Linked DNA regions of Homo sapiens: all the other regions are linked to region 1. The links are contacts of gene promoters, found by promoter capture Hi-C in blood cells and fetal thymus (Javierre and others, 2016). All regions are on one chromosome and are shown on one strand. The core of a region is centred on a gene start or on the middle of the fragment in contact, and the rest is flanking DNA. Distances in the headings are between cores, read along the strand shown. Region 1 holds the start of CENPU (centromere protein U). Region 2 has its middle 20 kb from the start of MIR4455. Region 3 has its middle 9.4 kb from the start of LINC02437.

Region 1 (3,829 bases), core at 1-2,500:
AGCAAAACTCCAACTCAAAAAAAAAAAAAAAAAAAAAAAAAGAACTTACTCATGTAACCAAATAGCACCTGCACCCCAATAATTTATGGAAAAATAAAATAAATAAAAAATAAAAGCAATAGCTTTAGTAAGAAAGGGCACTTGCAGCATACCTACCAAATATCATATAAAGTTTAGAAACATACAATAATCAATACATTATTTGGGGCTATATCAAGGTAGAAAACCACAGGAATGATACACATAAAATCAGAAGAGTGGTTATTCTTTGGAGGAGGAGGATACCATTCAGAGGGGTACCCAAGAGTTATATATAAAAATGATCCATATCCCCATGTAGTGCTGGTTACACGGATGTTTGTTTTTATCTTTACATTACACGTTATATTCTTTCATATGCATGAAACGTAATATTTTTGTCGTAGTAAAATATACATAACAAAATTTAGCATTTTAACCGTTTTTAACTTTACAGTATTGTGGCATTAAGTACCTTCACCTTGTGCATCCATCCACCACTATTTCCAGAACGTTTTCATCATCCCAAACTGCTTTTGGTATCATATCCAAGAAATCATACCAAGTCCAATGTTATGAAGTTTTTGCTCTGTTTTCTTCTAAGAGTTTTAATTTTAGCCTTTATAGTTAGGTCTTTGATTCATTTTGCGTTAATTTTTATACGCGGTGTAAGGTAAGGGTTCAATTACATTCTTCTGCATTACACATTTTTAAACACAAACAAAATAAAAGAACAAAAGGAACCCTGTCCATTTACAAATGAAGGTATTGGGATAGCGGTAAAGTAACATGCTAAGCTCAGACAGCTGATAAAGGCAGCAGGGGCTGGAAGCCAAATCCTGTAGGCCTGGAAAGACGACTGCGGCCTCAGCGACAACAGCTGCGAACACGGGTCTCCACCCACCCTCTTACCTGCCCACGACTCAGGGACACTAGCTCCTCCCCTTTCCCCACCCCACAAGGGGCCGTCCCACGTGGCTCCCGGGCTTTCTGGCGCCGGAAAACTGGCGATGCGGGTGGGCGCGAAAGCCCGGAAAACTTTGGCATGTTTTGGACCGTAGGTAACTGGTTGTGCGGCATGGACTCCAGCTCCGTTGCGCTGTAATAACCAGACCCAGTTTTCCCTCACGCTCCAGGCCAGGGAGGAGCCCGGGGGCCGCTCAGGAAGTCCTGCGCACGCGCGCGTGCTCGGCCCGGATTGGCTGTTCGGAGCGGCGAGGGGCTTGGCGGGAGCTTCCAGTCGCTCGAGAGCGGAGAGCGGCACCATGGCCCCGCGGGGGCGGCGGCGGCCGCGGCCTCACAGGTCTGAGGGGTAAGTACTGCCGACCCTCGGGAGCGCGGGGCCGGAGACCAGCTTGAACTGCTTCCTCGCCTGCCGTGGTTTGCGCCTCCCGGCGCTGTTGGTGCTCCACTGTGGAGGTCGCCCGAGTGGCCAATCGCCCGGGTCCCCGGCTTCCTCCTCAGTCTAGTGGGGATAACAGTGATCCCACCTGCACGGGCCTGTCGGGGCCTAACACTGCCTGGCGGGTGGGAGAGACGTCAGCCAGTGTCGTGTCGTTTTGTGGGGAGGGGGAGTGCCGTCCAAAGTAGTGAGTCTCAAAGTGCTAGCTTGAAAGCAAAATATTCAGCAAATACGTATTGCCTGCGGTTTGCCAGACTTTGTTAGTGGAGTTTTATTCTCTGACTGGGAATCAGTTTTCTTATTTTGAAGACCCTGGTGTTTTCTTACTGCAAACCACAGACCGTAAACTGGAGCATAAATCCGGCTGGGGGACCGAGCTGCCGCTTGCGGTTCTCCAGGATGGCTCGAGCGGTTTTTGTTTACCAAAGAAAGCGAGCGTTTGGTCGGTTGCAAAACGCGCTCTAGAATGCTGGTCGCTGATTCGTTGGCGAATGGCCATCCAAGGCCCGGCCTGGATCTGGCGGGAAGGGTCTCGGCTTGCTGCAGACGGTGCACAAAGCCATACGCCAAGACGATCTGAAGAGAACAGGAGTTCCCCCGGGCCTGGGAAGGCTGCCTGGAGGAGGAGGTGCTGGTAGATGCGGGGTTAGGGTGGAAAAGCTGGAGCAGGACACCGCAGGTGGGTGGGGAAACCGAGACCAGACTTCTGTGGCCAGTGGAGGAGAATGAAGACTCCCCCAGTGCAAAAAAGGATTAGAAGAGAATGTCAGCCTTCAATGTCAGCTGAAAAGAGTTTATCTGAAAGGCTAGTGGTTTTTGTTGTCTTTTTTTATTTTTATCTTTTAACATTTTTGGGTTTGAGACTCATGAAATCTGTTCATGCCTCCTCCCAAAACACACTTACGCACATACAACAGAATTTTTTTTTTTTTTTTTTTTTGAGACGGAGTCTCACTCTGTGGCCCAGGCTGGAGTGCAGTGGCGCAATCTCCGCCTCCCAGGTTCAAGCGATTTTCCTGCCTCAGACTCCAGAGGAGCTGGGATTACAGGCGCTCGCCCCCACGTCCAGCTAATTTTTGTATTTTTAGTAAAGACGGGGTTTCACCATGTTGGCCAGGATGGTCTTGATTTCCTCACCTCGTGATCCGCCCTCCTGGGGTTCCCAAAGCGCTGAGATTACAGGCATGAGCCACCGCGCCTGGCCCAGAAATTTTACCTGTGGGTTGTCACAGAGGTTTCTGTCTCTCAGAAGCCCCACCTTGACTCCAGCGTAAGGCAAGGAGGAACCTTGACTTTTTTTCCCCCCCAAGAAAGGACAAGACAGCTCAAAGAGTTTAGGTTAAGAAGTTTATGTGGTCTAGTGTGTAGCTGGGTTTCTGTTACCTGGCTATGTGACCCTTGATAAGTCACTTAAATTTTCTGAATCCCGGAATCATCATCTATAAAATTGCCATAAAACCAATACTTGTCTTACCTGCTTCCTTAGGTTTCATGAATTAAATAAATAAATCGTGAACTTGTTAGAAATGCAGAATCCCAGACCTCACCCCAGAGGGACTGAATCAGACACTCCTGGGGTGGTGCCAAGCAACCTGTTCAACAAGCCCTCTTGAGAATTTTGATGACACTCAAGTCTGGGAACCACCGCTCTGAACAGTTTTCTAACTTTTTTTTTTTAACTGTGATTCACAGTAATGATGTTTTACATCACACTTAGTACACGTGTGCACACATCCACACATAAAACAAAAGGCTTGTGAACATAGTATATCCAGTGCAATGCTTCATTTTATATTTTCCTTTTTTATTGTTTGTTTTTTTAAAAATGCTGGCCTGGCAATCTTAAAAGACATTATAGGACAATTGATGTGATTTGGGTATGGACTGTAGATTAGATTATGGTATCAGTGTTAAATTTCTTGATTTTAGAAATTGTACCATGAATATGCAGTATAATGCCCTCTTAGGAAAGACATATTGTAGTATTTAGGGGTGGAAGTGCACAGTATCTCCAGACACACACACACACACACACACACACAGAGCACATGAGTAAAGGGCATACAGAAGGTCCTTGTGCTATGTTTGCAACTTTTCTGTGAGCTTGAAATTATATCAGATAAAAGGATACTAAAACATTGGTTTAGACTAAGCTGATTTTGCTGTCTACAAATGAGAAAAATATGGCTGCAATCTGCATGGCATATTTTAAAGTCTAATTATGTACTGTATTCTCCTGGAGTATCCCCCCCGTACCCTTGTACGATGCCTGGTTGGTGGAGGATAGTCTGTACATATTCACTGACTGCTGGCACTATTATTAGTAATAATGATATATAATCCTGCCACTGTTATTTCCCGTTTTTATTCTTGTCACCATTGTTACATTTGTTTTCTTGAAGCTTGTTG
Region 2 (3,457 bases), core at 141-2,640, 220 kb before region 1:
TCCAAAACTTTTTCATCCAACCAACTGAAGCTTCCTCTGTACCTGCTAAACCCTAATTCCCCCTCCCCTTCCCGCCAGGCCCTGACAACCACCAATCTATGTCTTGTCTCTATGAATGTGACTACTCCATGTACCTCCTAGAATTGGAGCTGACAGCGTTTGTCCTCCTGGACGGATTCCTTTTTCTTTTTGTAGAAACAGGGTCTTCCTACGTTGCCCAGGCGGGTCTCGAATTACTGGCTCCAATGATCCTCCCGCCTTGGCCTACCAAAGTGCTGGGATGACAGGCGCGAGCCACTGCACCTGGCCTGGACGGATTCTTATTGGCATCTGAGACGGAATGGACTGGGCTTTGTGAAATTCATCATCAGTTACTCTATTGACTGGCACCGGCCGGCAGAGACCAGAACCTGTGGGTCGGAGTGGCTGTTTCCTTCTGAACAAATAGATGCTTCCACTGTTAGTCATCCTGAAAAGAGTTTAATCCCAGAGTACAAAAAGAAGTGGACTGAGACTGGGGAAAGTAAGGCTTTCCTCTCTGCAGCTTGCTTGGCCTTCATTCCAAGGTGTGGAGCTACCTGGGGATTCTTCCTGGTGGGGTGTGGGTGGTGGCGCCTGTGTCCATGGAGGGAAGCCTGCTGCGGGCAGTACAGCAATTGTGAGGGCAGCCAAGCCCTTTTAGTGCAGGCATCTCTTACGCTCTGTGTGGTCCTCCAGCTAGCCCCAAGGCTCAGCACCACGTGCTTACATCAGCTCATCATCTCAGCCAAGCTGCAGGGATGGGAGAGGTGGATGTCCTGGCCACCAGGCTGCAGGTGGGAGGCAGTGGGGGGCATCAGCTGGGCCCCACCGGGCAGACCTGTCATGAAGGTACAGAGGCCGGAGACAACACAGATAAAAAAGTGAAGCCAAGCGAGATGTCCCAGAGTACCGTGGGCAGCGTGCTGGAGCATTCACGGAAGTTCCAGCAAGCAGCCTGGTGTGAGCTCACGACATCATCACTTCCATCTGAAAAGAGAAGGATAATTTACTTTTTAGACACAGGCTTGTGTCTAAAGAGGCCAGAGACACTGAGTTAAACACATCTGACTTAATATCATAATCTTTCAAATTATTTTCCATGAACTAAAGTGATGCTCAAGGAAGACCATCCCTGCAACCCGCCTCTACTCACCGCTGCCCCAGCACCCTGGCTGGAGACACAGAGCCCTGGGTTCATTCCAAAATGCAATGACAATTTGCTTTCACACTCAAAATATGGGAAAGACTTTAGAGTGTGCGGTAGTTCCCGTTTCTGTGTAGCTTACATCAGGGCGGGTATCTCCGGGGCCCTATTCAACGTCGTGCTCAAGCAACCCCAAGCAGTATTCAGGAGCCACTTGGAAGGAGCTGCAAGGTTTAAGCAGTTAATGAACATTCAAATCATATAGTAGAAAATAAAACCTCGAACACGGGGTTTTAGTATCTATGGAATCTGATGGGTTTGAAGATAAAGTGCCCACAGAGAAGCCACAGCTTCAAGATTCTTCGTGGTATAGTTATTCAGGGAGCTTGCCAATTGTGAGCTGCAAAATCATAACATTAATACTTAATAATAGGCTTATTCCTGTTACTCTTTATTATCCCAATCATGTTCCCAGCTATTATCTCCTTTCTCCCCTTATACCATCCCTGGGGAGAGGCTGACATAAATTATTATCCCTCCTTTAAGGGGGAAGGCATTAAAGCACAGAGAGATTAAATGACATGCCTGAGGCTCTAAAATTAGTGTGCAGCACAGGCGAGGTGAGAGCTTGTGTGTCTGTTTCCCCCAGTGTTCCTCTGCTTCTCTGGCTAGCTCTGGGTATCCAACCTCTCTAGGTCCAAACATCTCAGCCACCCTCATAAATAGCCATGAAGTCTTGGGAAAGCCTGCTGCTCTGCACCCGGGCCTGTTTCCACCTCACATTAACATGCCTTTAGAGCAATGTCTAGGAGCCACCTCTTCTCAGAGGCTTCCCTACCCACCTCCTGCTGAGATGGTCGCCACCTCTGGCAACCTTCAGCCACACCTGGAATTAGCCCCACACCAACAGCGCGGGGCATGTAATTACACGCTTTCTAGAATTATGTGCTCATGGCTTGCCAACTAAAGGGTGAGCTTTCTGAGGGTTGGCCTCCAGCTGCATCCCATGCGTCTTCTTTGGTGTCCTTCAAGGCCTCTGGAAGCAAGTTGGGCAGCACGGGGGCCTAATAAACTTGCTCAGTGATGTGTTGGGTGCTGTAGGACATGAGTGATGGGCAAGATGGATTCTCTGTGAAAGCTCTGCTGCTTGTTCCAGTCCCTCTCCGTCCTCCGCTCCATTTCATTCCGCACACATAGCTATCACTACCACTGTGCTATGCATCTGTCTGTCTGCACATTTACGGCTGTCTCTCCCACTGCAGTGTCAGCTCCAGGGGAGCAAGGCCCTTCTTGCTTCTCCAGATCCTCACACACATAGCAGCCGCTTGTTCCATCGGGATGTGTATCCCTCCAAGTCTCATGATGTGATCCCCAGTGTTGGAGGTGGGGCCTAGTGGGAGGTGTTTGCGTCATAGGGGCTGATCTCTCTTGAATGGCTTGGTGCTATCCTGGCAAGAGCGAGTGAATTCGTGTGAGATCTAGTTGTTTAAAGAGTGCGGCACCTCCAGCTTCTCTCTCACTCTGCTTTCACCATAGGATGCACCTGCTCCCCCTTCCCCTTCTCCCTCAATTGCTTGTAAGCTTCCTCAGGCCCTCAAGTGGCACAGATGTCGGTGCCATGCTTCCTGTATGGCCTGTAGAATCGTGAGCCAATTCAAACTTTTTTCTTTACAAATTGCCTAGCCGCAGGTGTTCCTTTATAGCAGGGGTCTCCAACACCCAGAACCAGGAGGTTAGGAACCAGGCTGCAGAGCAGGAGGTGAGCAGCAGGCAAGCGAGTGAAGCCTCCTCTGTATTCACAGCCACTCCCCATCACTCACATACCGCTTGAGCTCTGCCTTCTGTCAGATCAGCGGCAGCATTAGATTCTCAAAGAAGAGTGAACCCTTTTGTGAACTGCGCATGCAAGGGATCTAGGTTATGTGCTCCTTAAGAGAATCTAGTGCCTGATGATCTGTCACGGTCTCCCGTCACCCCCAGATGGGACCATCTAGTTGCAGGAAAGCAAGCTCAGGGTTCCCACTGATTCTATACTATCATGAGTTGTATAATTATTTAATTATATATTACAATGTAATAATTATAGAAATAAAATGCACAATAAATGAATCATCCTGAAACCACCTCCCACTTCCATGGCCTGTGGCAAATTCGCCTTCCATGAAACCAGTCCTTGGTGCCAAAGAAGTTGGGGGACTGGTGTTTTTTTTTTTTTTTTTTGAGACAGAGTTTTTGCTCTTGTTGCCCAGGCTGGAGTGCAATGGCGCAATCTCGGCTCACTGCCACCTCCAC
Region 3 (3,420 bases), core at 690-3,189, 250 kb before region 1:
ACCATGTTGGCCAGGCTGGTCTCGAACTCCTGACCTCAAGTGATCTCCCCACCTCAGCTTCCCAAAGTGCTGGGATTACAGGCATAAGCCACTGCGCTTGGCCTTAAATTTAATTTTTAATTAACAAAACTTGAAAAAAATAAATTCAGGTTCTCATTTGTACTAACTACATTTCCAGTACTCAGTAGTGACTTGTGGCTAGTGTATGTGACAGCACAGATGCAGAACAGTTCCCGCCATGGCAGGAAGTTCAATTGTACCACGCTGGGCAGTGCTGAGCTCTGGCCTTTGGGGTGGAGTGATGGGAGTCAATGAGGCAGCTTATTCCTGACACTTCAGAGGTCAGGAAGCAGAGAGGTCCTATAGTCGCCTATGTTTTGTGGTGGGATGTAAGAGGCAGCAACAGGACTGCCCTCCCTCACTTCTGCAAAACACTCGTGGTTGCTCCCTTCCATGTGCCAGGATTCCTGAAAGCCCCGTGGACACTCCTTTAAAGCACTGCCTCCAAAGAAGGCCTTGTAAAAATACACGTGTGATTTTAAAATGTTCATGCACTTGGATCCGATGATTCTACTTCTGGAAATATATCCAAAGGATATACTCATAGATATTCAAATAGAGATCCATAAAAGGAATATTCTACATTACATTATTATTTTTCTCGGGTCAGATTTAGGTGGGGTATACTTTACATACAATAAAATTGATCCTTATAAGGTAGACAGCTGGATAAGTTTTGCCAAACGTATACAGTCATGTAACCACCCCCATAATAAAAAAGCTTCCCATCATTCCAAAAAGTTCACCCATGCTACCCTTTGTGGTCAATCCCCTGCCGCAATCCCTAGCCCCTGGCAGCGCTGATCTGCTTTGCAGCTTGTAGTTTTGCCTTTTGTGAACGTCACACAAATGGAATTACAGGTGTGGCCATCTGCACCTGGCTTCTGTCATTTAGCAAATGTTTTTCGATGCATCCATGGTATTGCATTCATGGGTTGTTTGCTCCTTTTATTGGTGAGTAGTATTCCATTGTGTTGTCCTATAGTTTGTTGACCCATTTTCCTATCGGTGGGCATTTGGGTTGTTTCTGGTGTCTGGCAATCAGGAATAAAGCAGCTAAAACATTCATGTGCAGGTCTGTGTGGACCACAGGGCGCAGACATGCAAATGAATGTTGGTCTTCACATGAATGATTCCAGAAGTTGAATCATTTATTTACAGAGCGAGCTTCCAAGAAAAACCAGAATGTCTAACATCTAACATCTGATACCCTAAAGAATGGAGCAACCAAATGTAACCACTGACATTGCATTTTGAAAGGCTACTTGTGGCGTGGAAATATTTCACTTGTTTAGTGTTAAAAAGCAGAACACAGAACAATACGCTTTCAGGAGGAAACAATGGTCATCTCTGGCTCGTGGAGGACTTTTACTTTGTTCTTTCTTGACCATTTCTCTGTTGGGGTCTCTGAGCTGTCAGGAACCAGAAAACCATCCAGGTCTCTTACATGATGAGGTTGACCGTAAGAGGCTGCGGGACAACAAGGAAGGCAGGAAGGAATCTTGTCTGCAGAGGAGGCTGGAAGGGGCCATGTGGATGATGGCAACAGCAGCCCCTCAGAGATCTGCAGGAGCAGCAGGCTGCAGGCCCGGGGGGGCTTCCAGACACCCTGCCTGCTCTGTGCTCTCTCTTCCGTCTGTCCATCAGTCCACAAACTCTGAAGGAGTGACTTCCATCTGCCAGGCACGGCTTATCTCCCGGCATGTGGACGTGAACAAGGCACACTTGGCCGCTTCCCTCATGAAGCTGGGAGTCTAGTGTTGTCTCTCTCTCTCTCTCTCTCTTTCTCTCTCCTTCTGCTCCCACCAGCTAAACCCTCCCCTTCCCTTTTTTCTCTTCTGTGGCTTCTGCTTCGTTCCTTCCCTCTGCGGGTCGTAGGCAAATGCTCTCCTGCACCCCTCAGTCCTGCGAGACGGTCCTGCGTGTCTCGTCGCTCAGCTCCCGACAAGAGGGCCTGAGTGCAGTGCAGTCAGGGCAGAGCCTTACAGGAGCCCACGCTGCAGCCACGCCAGCCGGGGTTGCTGCCTTTGAGACAGGCACTCTGCCCTGGGGCTGACAGGATGCTGGCACCCAAGCTACTTCTGGATCCTTCTATCTAACTGTGTATTAATCAACAAGAGTGTATACATTTTCTGAATTATTTTGGGGACCAATCTGTTGAGTTCCAGGGCCTGCTCCATTCACAGCCATGCGGACGGGCTTCTCACCCACAGTTTGCCATGAAACAAGAAATAGACATAGAAGAAATCTGACCCAAGAAAAGTAATAATGTCACACAGAAAGTCCCTTTTACAGGTCTCTATTTGAATATCTATGAGTATATCCTTTGGATACATTTCCAGAAGTAGAATCATGGGATCCAAGTGCATGAACATTTTAAAATCACACGTGTATTTTTAGAAGGCCTTCTTTGGAGGCAGTGCTTTAAAAGAGTGTCCATGAGGCTTTTGGGAATCCTGGCACGCAGAAGGTAGCAGCCACGAGTGTTTTGCAGAAGTGAGTGAGGGCAGTACTGTTGCTGCCTCTTGCATCCCACCACAAAGCATGAGTGACTGTGGGACCGCCCTGGTCAATCCAGCGGGCAAGGGCAGGGGCAGAGTCAACAGACACACAGCTCAGTAGACTGTGGGTAAGAAACCCCCTTGGGACAGCTGTGAATGGGGCAGGCCCCAGAACACAACAGACGGGTCCCCAATATAATACAGAAAATGTATAAACTCTCATTGATCAATGGGTACAAATATGCAGTCAGATAGAAGAAATGAGACCTAGTGTTCGATAGATCAGTAGAGTGACCATATTTGACAATAATCTACTGCACAACTCAAAATAGCTAGAAGAGAATGATTGAAATGTTCCCAGCATAAAGGAAAGATAAATATTTAAGGTGAGGGATAACCCAATTCCCCGACTTGACCTTTACACAATATAGCAATGTGTCAAAATATCACATATGCCCTGAAGATTTGTACAGCTCTTATGTAACACTAAAAAAGATTAAAATAATATTACAACATTTTTTAAACTGGAAGCTTTTTATAATGAGCACCTGCTACTTTTCAAATTGGAGATGGGGGCAGTAGAAAATAATATTGCACAAGAAAAAAACCTATTTCCTGAGAAGGATAAGAACATTCTAGTGAGTCCTGGCTAAAGATATAAGCAGACGTGACTCCATCCATGTTGGCTGTCTCCCAGGAGCAGAGGGCGAGGCTAAGAGAAGGGTTCAGGGAACTCGGTCTGTGGAAGGTTAGAGACAGAAAGAGGACGGAACACTGGGACCTCGGGGAGGGCGGAGCTGGGGGAGGGCTGAGAGCATGAACTCACTTCTTATGTTCTTTCTTGTTGTTTTTTGCACTA

What was found. Contacts are between HindIII fragments. The CHiCAGO score rates a contact against its expected background, and 5 or more counts as called.
Region 2: a fragment that was not itself captured here is called in contact with the fragment with the promoter of CENPU in region 1 in 1 of 17 cell types (neutrophils); the score reaches 5.8 in neutrophils.
Region 3: a contact is called between a fragment that was not itself captured here and the fragment with the promoter of CENPU in region 1, in 2 of 17 cell types (neutrophils and M0 macrophages). The highest score is 7.8, in neutrophils.

Annotation. Positions count from the first base shown.
Region 1 is chr4:184,731,517-184,735,345 of GRCh38, reverse strand. It overlaps CENPU (centromere protein U), which reads left to right and starts at 1,250. Exons shown (of 13, transcript NM_024629.4): 1 at 1,250-1,330. The coding sequence starts at 1,284. RefSeq lists a silencer at 1,244-1,303 and enhancers at 1,674-1,793, 944-1,810. The HindIII fragment of the contact is 4,927 bases long and covers 1-3,824 here.
Region 2 is chr4:184,956,888-184,960,344 of GRCh38, reverse strand. No RefSeq gene overlaps it. Among named protein-coding and RNA genes, the nearest start is that of MIR4455, 20 kb to the right of the region's middle. RefSeq lists a silencer at 2,652-2,815. The HindIII fragment of the contact is 2,716 bases long and covers 33-2,748 here.
Region 3 is chr4:184,978,272-184,981,691 of GRCh38, reverse strand. No RefSeq gene overlaps it. Among named protein-coding and RNA genes, the nearest start is that of LINC02437, 9.4 kb to the left of the region's middle. The HindIII fragment of the contact is 2,311 bases long and covers 784-3,094 here.